Regions from separate parts of the Homo sapiens genome. Here region 1 is linked to region 2. Evidence: promoter capture Hi-C in human tissues and cell types (Jung and others, 2019). All regions are on one chromosome and are shown on one strand. The core of a region is centred on a gene start or on the middle of the fragment in contact, and the rest is flanking DNA. Distances in the headings are between cores, read along the strand shown. Region 1 holds the start of PNPLA7 (patatin like domain 7, lysophospholipase). Region 2 holds the start of TOR4A (torsin family 4 member A).

Region 1 (2,500 bases), core at 1-2,500, 270 kb before region 2:
CTGGCGGATGAGTGATCGCTCTCAGCGCGGTGGTCCCTGGCGTCTCCACTGCCCGCCACTGCCTGTGTTCGTCCGCCAGGTGGCCGGCGGTTTCCCGGGAGCCCAGTCCCCCTGAGGCCGTGAGGTGGCGTCGGGAGGTCGGGGAGGACGCGGGCCCTGGACTCGAGACGGCCGCCGCGTTGACGCCGCGACCCTGCCTTTCTTACCCCTCCGCCGGGCGCGGCTCCTCTGGGCGGAGCCGGCAACCGCGCGGGGAAAGCCCGGGACCTGCAGCCGGGAGGGCCCGGGCTGTCTGTGCTCCCCCGCAGGCCGGGCAGTGGTGTGGGGGGACTCGAGCCCTCGCGGTGCCCAAATTAATCAATAATCTTGGACCCAGCACGTCCGGCTTGCGCACTGAGCCCTCCTGCCCGGTCACCCTCGCAGGCGACCTCTCACCCCACGCGGAAGTCGCCCCCCAGCCGCACCCTCACAATCCGGATCCACCCCCTCCCCAGCTGCACCCCGTCCCCAGCGGCACCCCCACAGCCCAGATCCATCCCCTCTCCAGCTGCACGCCCTTCCCCAGCGGTACCCCCACACCCCAGATCCATCCCCTCCCCAGCTGCACCCCCTCCCCAGCGGCACCCCCACGCCCCAGATCCACCCCCTCCCCAGCTGCACCCCCTCCCCAGCGGCACCCCCACGCCCCAGATCCACCCCCTCCCCAGCTGCACCCCCTCCCCAGCGGCACCCCCACACCCCAGATCCACCCCCTCCCCAGCTGCACCCCCTCCCTAGCGGTACCCCCACTCGCCGGATCCACGCGCTCCCCAGCTGCACCCTCTCCCCAGCAGTACCCCCACACCCCAGATCCACCCCCTCCCCAGCTGCACCCACTCCCCAGCGGTACCCCTACACGCCGGATCCACCCCCTCCCCAGCTGCACCCACTCCCCAGCGGCACCCCCACACCCCAGATCCACCCCCTCCCCAGCTGCACCCACTCCCCAGCGGTACCCCTACACGCCGGATCCACCCCCTCCCCAGCTGCACCCTCCTCCCCAGCTGCATCCCCACACCCCGGATCCACGCCCCGCCAGCGTCACCTCCCCTCCAGCCGTGCTTCTCCAGAAGGCAGCGCTGCCCCCATCCCCGCCGCGCTGGGCCTGGCTCCTCTTGACCTGCTTGGATACGCCCCATCTGGCTGCTGTTCTGGGTTCCGGGACAGCCACGTGAGGGCTGTTTACAGAGGGAAGGAGGTGGCTCCTAGCAGATGACAGACACTTCTCAAAAGACAGCTTTTCTTCCTGGAGAACAGACTTTTTCAGCAGGATTTTCCTTTCAGTGAAACATAATTTGACTTGAAAGGAACCCAGGGAAAAGTGTCCAGGTGTGAGCATGAGCGGGTAGAGGTGTGCCCTTGTTTGCTTCAGGCTGTCTGCTTTTCGCCCCTGACTGTTTTTTCTGTTTCTGGCCATGGAGGAAGAGAAAGATGACAGCCCACAGGTATGTAACTCGGGGGACCAGATGCCTGGATTTCCCAGTTGGGGGGCATTTCTGGACCCAGAGAAGGGTCCTCTTGGCGTCTGCTCTGCCGCGCTCTTTGGCCCCGTGGCTTCTTGGCGCCTGAGGACTGTGGGAGTGGTGGATCTGGCCCCTCTCTGCTGCCTGTCACAGCTGCCAGCACTTGTTAGACGCGCCTGTCACAGCAGACAGCCAGTGGTGGCCCATGGGCATTGTTCACAGCGAGGGCAGCCAGCGGTGGCCCATGGGCATTGCCTGAGGCCTTGTCTTTTCTTCCCCTAAGGTCACAGTTGCTACTTCCAGTTCCTTTAGGACTTTGCCTGATGGTTTTGCTTAGAACCTTTTTCTGTGTTTTTTTTTTTCCCAAGACGGAGTCTCGCTCTGTCGCCCAGGCTGGTGTGCAATGGTGTGATCTTGGCTCACAGCAACCTCCGCCTCCTGGGTTCAGGCAATTCTGCCTCAGCCTCCCGGGTAGCTGGGACTACAGGCACCACGCCCGGCTAATTTTTGTATTCTTAGTAGAAACGGGGTTTCGCCATGTTGGCCAGGCTGGTCTTGAACTTTTTTTTTTTTTTTTTTTGAGACGGAGTCTTGCTCTGTCGCCCAAGCTGGATTGCAGTGGCACGATCTCAACTCACTGCAAGCTCTGCCTCCCAGGTTCACGCCATTCTCCTGCCTCGGCCTCCCAAGTAGCTGGGACTACAGGCGCCCACCACCACGCCCGGCTAATATTTTTTTGTATTTTCAGTAGAGACGGTGTTTCACTGTGTTAGCCAGGATGGTCTCGATTTCCTGACCTCGTGATCCGCCCGCCTTGGCCTCCCAAAGTGCAGGGATTACAGGCATGAGCCACCGTGCCCGGCCTAGTCTTGAACTCTTGACCTCATGATCTGCCCGCCTCGGCCTCCCAAAGTGCTGGGATTACAGGCGTGAGACACTGTGCCCAGCCCTAGAATCTTTTTCTTAGTCAAACATCTGTAGCCACATGGCAAAGGCCT
Region 2 (6,049 bases), core at 456-2,955:
CACGCGCCGCGCCAGCTCCTCGCGGCAGTCCTGTGCGGCGCGCGCCTCGGGGCAGTGGTGCCGCGCATGGTATTGCAGCACGAGCGCGCTGTCCTCCAGCACCGAGCGGAAGTGGCGCGCCAGCAGGCGGCCCACGTGGCTCTTGCCCACGCCACTGGGCCCGTGCAGCGCCAGGAGGAGCGGACGACTGTGCACATGCGTGGCCAGGTAGTCCCGCATCAGCGCCACGATGCGCGATACGGCAGCGGGCTGGCCGAACACCGCGCGCTGCAGCGCTTTCTCCAGCCCGTCGAGGTCATAGCGCTGCGCGTTATCGTCCAGGTTCTCGATAGCGTTGAGAACTTGGAAGCCCACGATGGCGACTAGCAGCAGAAGGCAGCGCTGCGCGCGGCTCCTGTGCTCCACGCGCGGCCGATACTTGCGCGAGGTCTCCGGGTAAAGCACCAGGCGGCTGCGCCGGCGCTTCTTGCGTGGCGTCCTGGAGGGTAGCTCCGCGGGGCTGTCGAAGGTGAAGAACTTTGGCTGGTCCAGGTCCGCGCGCGGTGCCCGGGGGCTGCAGCCCGGCCTGGGCGCCCCGGTCCCGACGTCGGGCCCCCCACCCGGCTGCAGGAGGCGCCGTTTGCGTAGGACACACACCCGGCGGCGCAGGCGGAGCACAGCGCGCACGGGCGCGATCACGCACCGGCCCGAGGCTCGGGGGGCCGCGGCAGCAGGCTCCAGGCTGGGCTGGCCGCGGTCCATGTCGCAGGAACGGCGCTCCGCATACAGGTCGCCCTCCCTGCAACGGGAAGACGGGGAGGGTCTCTGGACTCCCGCCACTGCCCTTTCCCGCGGGCCGCCGGAACCGGTCCCCGGAGTGATCTTACCCCCTGGGAGTCCCGTGGGGTGCGGCCCGGGCTGCCCCAGGGCCAGGGGCCTGGTCGCGGCCTCGCCCCTCAGACCGGCAAGCGACCCCTCCGCCCCTCCGCCCCTCCGCCCCTCCGCAGGGCCCCGATGCAAATCTCTCGGGTCTTCCCATAAACGGCCGCGGGCCTTGAGGAAGTGGCGGGGTAGAGGCTTATCTGGTGGCCGCCCCGGCTTCCTGGAGGAGTCGTCGAAGGAGTCAGTGGCCGCCCAGGCGCCCACTGGGGTGAACAGTCACCCCCGGACCCTGCCCCCGCCCGCGGCTCCCACTGGACTGGGCCGTCTCCCAAGGAGGGGCCGCGGGAAGCAGAGGCCTGAGCGCCCAGGAGTTCAGAGACGCCCCCACACGCTCCAGAACACTTGGCGGGGGTCTGGCTGGAACTTATGATTTTGAGAATAGGCCCGGGCCCCGTCCCCAGGCTCAACCCAGGCCTCCCAGCCCCGACTCCAAAACTGGGGTCCTCCCAACACCCCTCCAGTGAACGAGCTGAGCAGTGCAGGGAGCCCCCCGGAGACTAGTGGAGGTGAAACGAAAAGATGGACAGAAAGAAGAGGCCGGTCGGAGCAAGAGAGCCACTGACTGGCAGGAACTGGGCCCTGGGCCCCAACCCACCCCCTACCTGCAGCTGGTCCACTGCCCTCAGCTCCGCAGGCCCCTGCCTGTGCCAGACGCTGGGGCCTGAGACTCCAAGCAGGAAATGCGCCTCCCAGGGCGAGGGGGTGGGCCAGGGGCCTCCTGGGCCAGCTTCGGCCTGGAGGGGCAGCGACACCTGTGGGTCCCCAGGGAGCGGCCGGCCGGAGTAGAGGAAGCTCTGGGGAGGTTTCCGCTTCTATGCAAAGGAAGTGAGTCAGGGGGTGCGGCCCAGGCGGGACTTGGGCTGGACGGAGGCGCCAAAGGGGGGAGGCCTGGCCGGCTTGCCCAGATCCCCTGGCCGGAGGTCACATTCCCGCTTCAGTTCTCTAGCGCTCAGAGCCCTCCTGGCTTGGTCAGGCTCAGGACACCTGGTGAGGCCGAGGGCCCCTGCTGCATGCTGTGCCCCCACCCTGGGCTCCTGCACCTCAGCCTGTCCTCCAGGGCCCCCACCTCCCCCAGGTTATCCCTTCCACCTGTCACCCCACACACAGGGCTTACAGCTGGGGGGAGGGGCTCCAGGCCCTGTGTAAGCAAGGCGGGAGCAAGGCAGCAGCACAGGGGGCGGGCAGGGTCCTCTGCCGAGCTGCATACCCCCAATCCCTCTCTTATTACTCCTCTCCCCGCTTTTTCATTCCCCTCCTGACCCCAATCGGGGGCCCCCCAAAGTGGGCTCATTGTCTTTCCTTTCCCCCTTCCTCCGTCCCCAGCCTGGAGCCCCCTGCCCAGGACAGGCCAGCACACACAGACGGAAGTTCTATCACGGAAAAAACCACGTGCGGCTCAGGGTCCCTGTGGGGGTTGGGGAACAAATTTAGAAACAACTTGGGCCGGGAGCCAGGAGCTGGAGCTCTGGGCCCTTCCCCCTGCCGGCCTGCCTAAAGGACCCTGGACTCCTCCTACCCTGGCCCAGCCTGGAAGCCGCCTTCCAAGGAGGGGCAAGGTGGCCGCTCCAGCCACACCAGTGCTGCTGGCATTCAGCTCAGGACCCCGCAGTCCCAGGGACGCCCCACTCCTCCCAACAGCCAGCCCGGGCCTGATGGTTCCAGCTGTATATTCCTCACACACTGCACCCAACCAGACAGGCTCCATCAGGGAAACCGGTCGTGGGTTGGGGGTTTCCATTCTCTCCAGGGTATGGGGTCCACCGGACTATCACGCTCCCCTCCAGGAGCCAGGCCTAGGGCTCCCCTCCCCTGTGCAAGGGGTGCTCGGGGGCCCGGATCCCCAATTGTCGAGGCCGCGGGGGCCGCACACACCAGGTGGAATGCTGGTGCTCTTTGGGCCCACTCCCCGGCCTCTGTGGGACCAGAGCGGAAGGAGGTTGGCTGTCCAGGCCCCGTGGCCCCAGCACGGAGGTTGGGGTCCTTTGGGGGCCTCAGGCTTTGAGTCTCGGTGCTTCTTCTGACACAGAGAGGACCCTGGAGGGGAGGCCCTCGGGCAGATGCAGGCTGACCGAGCCCTGGAAAACCTGCAGCAAAGCCTCTGCCCTGCCTCCAAGTGCACCCAGGGCTGGAGCTGCTTCTGCCAGAGGCTGGCCCAGCAAATCCTCAGGCCAGAGCCCTCTGCAGGAAAGGGACTCGCTCAAGGGGTGCCCCAAGACCTGGCCCTATGGGTCAAAGGTGAATCTGAGGCCTGGGCCAAGGCCTCACCCCCTGCACTTTCTCCCATCTACAGGGGTGAAGGGAGCCCCAGAACCCCAGCTCCCAGGGCCATCACCATCTCCTGTGATACCCAGGGCCACCCCCAATCACACCCATTCCCATTCCAGGAGGCCTCCCCTCCCGCCTCCCTACCCAACCCAGCCCTGCCGCTGCGCCCAGAATTCATGTCCATCACCCACAAACACAGTACATGTTCTCAGCCTCTGAAAGGACTTCACCCTCACTGCTTCCCCCAGCCCTTGCCAGCAAGGTTGTTTTCCCCAAACCGTGGGCAGCCTCCCCACTTCTCCTCCCAAATTCCCCATAGGTTTCACTTCACCAGACGATGCCTCCCGTGCCTGGGCCCTCGGTCCTCCCCTACCAAGTCCTTCTCCCTAACTTCCCAGCAGCGTCCACACCCAGTCGCTCAGGCAGCTCTGCTCTTTCTGCCCCTAAAGGCTTTCGCTACAGTAACCATGCGCCCCCGAGGCTCAGCCGTCCACGCACGGTCCCATCCCAGTCCTTGCAATTCACACCCTCCACCTCACCAGTCCCTCACCCACGGGCTCCTCACTCTCTGTCCTTCACTCCCCACCCGTAGGCCTGGCACCCCCTGCAGGCGCCCTGGACAGGACGCGCCCGCTGCCCAGTGACCAAACCAGGCACCCGGGTCCACTCACTGACCATTCCTCCTACAGTCAAGTCCTCTACTCGTCCTCTCCCCTGCCACTTCCCCCTATCCTGCCTCCTAGCCCAAGACCTGAGAAAATGGGAGGCAGCAGCAGTGGACTCCCAGTGTCTCCTCAGCCGTCACCCCAGCATCTGCGCCCATCAGCCCTCCTCTGAGGACACCCCTGCTGTGCTGAGACCCCGGCCACCTGCTCATTCAGTGACAGCCCAGCCCCTGGACCATCCTCCACTCCTCACCCTACTGGGTCATTCCCATCAGCCCAGAAACATCTATTTCTTCTATCTTTAAAAAAAAACCAGGCCGGGCGCGGTGGCTCACGCCTGTAATCTCAGCACTTTGGGAGGCCGAAGCAGGTGGATCACAAGGTCAGAAGATCGAGACCATCCTGGCTAACACAGTGAAACCCCGTCTCTACTAAAAATACAAAAATTAGCCGGGCGTGGCGGCATGTGCCTGTAGTCCCAGATGCTGGGGTGGGGGGGGCGCTGAGGCAGGAGAATGGTGTGAACCCGGGAGGCGGAGCTTGCAGTGAGCCAAGATTGCGCCATTGCACTCCAGACCGGGCGACAGAGCGAGACTCCATCTCAAAAAAAAAAAGCAAAAAAAGCACGCACTCCTGGCCGGAACTGACCTTCATCCCACTCCTTAGTGCCTCTCAGCTGGGTCTCCAGGCCTCTCCTGCTTCCTCAGCTCTCCCTCCAAAGCACTGTTCCTCAGCCCCTCCTCCCTGGGCTGTGGGGCACCCAATCTGCTGCCAGCTGCCACCCCCCCGCCCCAGCTGGCCAGGAAGGCCCGCCCAGAGCACACGGCTGCTCTCCCTCACCTGGGCTGATCTGGCCCAGTCAGTAGCTCAAACACCACTCCCTATGACAGCATCCAGATCCACAACCTGGCCCCAGTCTCTTCTGAGCTCCACAGCCCCAAACCCATTGCATGTGCCTGTCAGACAAGCCCTTCATCTTCCCGTCACAGCCCACCTGGGCAGGTTCAGAGCCCTGGACCCTCCAAGACTCCTCTGCTGCTCACACCTACCCAGAACCTGCGCCCTCCACCCACCAGCCAGGCCAGCCCCAGACACCCAGCCTCACCTGGGTCCCCAGCTCCCAACCAAAGCCCTCAGGCTGGGACTTCTCCGCCTGCCCTGGGGCTCTTGGAGAGACATGACTGGATAAACTGAGGCATGGATCCGGCAGTGTAGACCACAATAAACTGAGGCACAGATCTCCCAGTGTAGACCACAAGCCCCATGCACAGGTGCAACAGAGTCCCAGGCGTCCCTGGCTCTGCCCCAGAGGATACCAGCTCAGAGACTCCCATACCCACGAGATCCCAGCACCATGGGCTTGTCTCACCCAACAGGTCCCAACCTGCTCAGCTGTGGCCTCACACTCCAGGGAGGCGAGCTCGCCAACAGGCGTCTCTGAGGACACGGTGACACCTGGCAGCCAGGCTATCGCCCCTGCATGCTGCGAGCCAAGGACAGTGACACCTGGCAGCCGGGCCATCGCCCCTGCATGCTATGAACTGCTGCCCGGCTTTGAGGTCTCATCTGCTGGAAATGGCCCTGGCTCTGTGCCTGTGACCCATGGCACATCCTGGGCCTCCAGGGCTCCTGTCCCTGGTGTGCACCAGGAGGTGAGAGGTGCCCCCTGGAATCGCAGGACAAAAACAAAGCAGCTGATCTGCGTCTTAGGGGCACCAAAGCCCCGAGGGTGAGGGCTTCCTGCCAACCTCCCTCAGAAATTATTATATCATCCTCCCCCAGAAATTATATCAACCTCCCCCAGAAATTATTATATCCTCCCCCAGAAATTTTATCAACCTCCCCCAGAAATTATTATATCAACCTCCCCCAGAAATTATTATATCGTCCCCAGCTGCTGGTCACAGACAGGGCTGAGCAGTCCAGAGAGGCTGTGGCCCACAAAGCCCCAAGTATTGGCTCCATAGCACAAATGCCTGTGTCCATCTGAGCTACATCCAACCTCAGGGCAGGCACAGAGACATCTCAGCCTCCACGTTTACCAAAATGCCTTTTATTTACATACGAGAAAATCTCACCGTGTGTCCAGCTGGCCCCGTCACGGCCGCTGAAGGCAGCACTGCTGGGCAAGGAGAAACAAGGCCACACCTGCAAACTGGGCTGCAGGGTGAGGTGGCTCCCTCCGCACAGGCCCCAGG

The links. Contacts are between HindIII fragments. The study calls those that stand out against the background at their distance.
Region 1: a contact is called between the fragment with the promoter of PNPLA7 here and the fragment with the promoter of TOR4A in region 2, in 1 of the 25 tissues and cell types used here (mesenchymal stem cells).

Annotation. Positions count from the first base shown.
Region 1 is chr9:137,549,152-137,551,651 of GRCh38, reverse strand. PNPLA7 (patatin like domain 7, lysophospholipase) reads left to right here and starts at 1,250. Exons shown (of 35, transcript NM_001098537.3): 1 at 1,250-1,484. The coding sequence starts at 1,455. RefSeq lists a silencer at 1-451 and an enhancer at 1,640-2,141. The HindIII fragment of the contact is 18,703 bases long and covers 1-2,500 here.
Region 2 is chr9:137,273,382-137,279,430 of GRCh38, reverse strand. It overlaps TOR4A (torsin family 4 member A), which reads right to left and starts at 1,705. Exons shown (of 2, transcript NM_017723.3): 1 at 1,524-1,705; 2 at 1-778. The coding sequence starts at 741. NELFB (negative elongation factor complex member B) reads right to left here. Exons shown (of 13, transcript NM_015456.5): 13 at 5,889-6,049. RefSeq lists silencers at 1,145-1,204, 1,485-1,804 and an enhancer at 4,446-4,625. The HindIII fragment of the contact is 16,896 bases long and covers 1-6,049 here.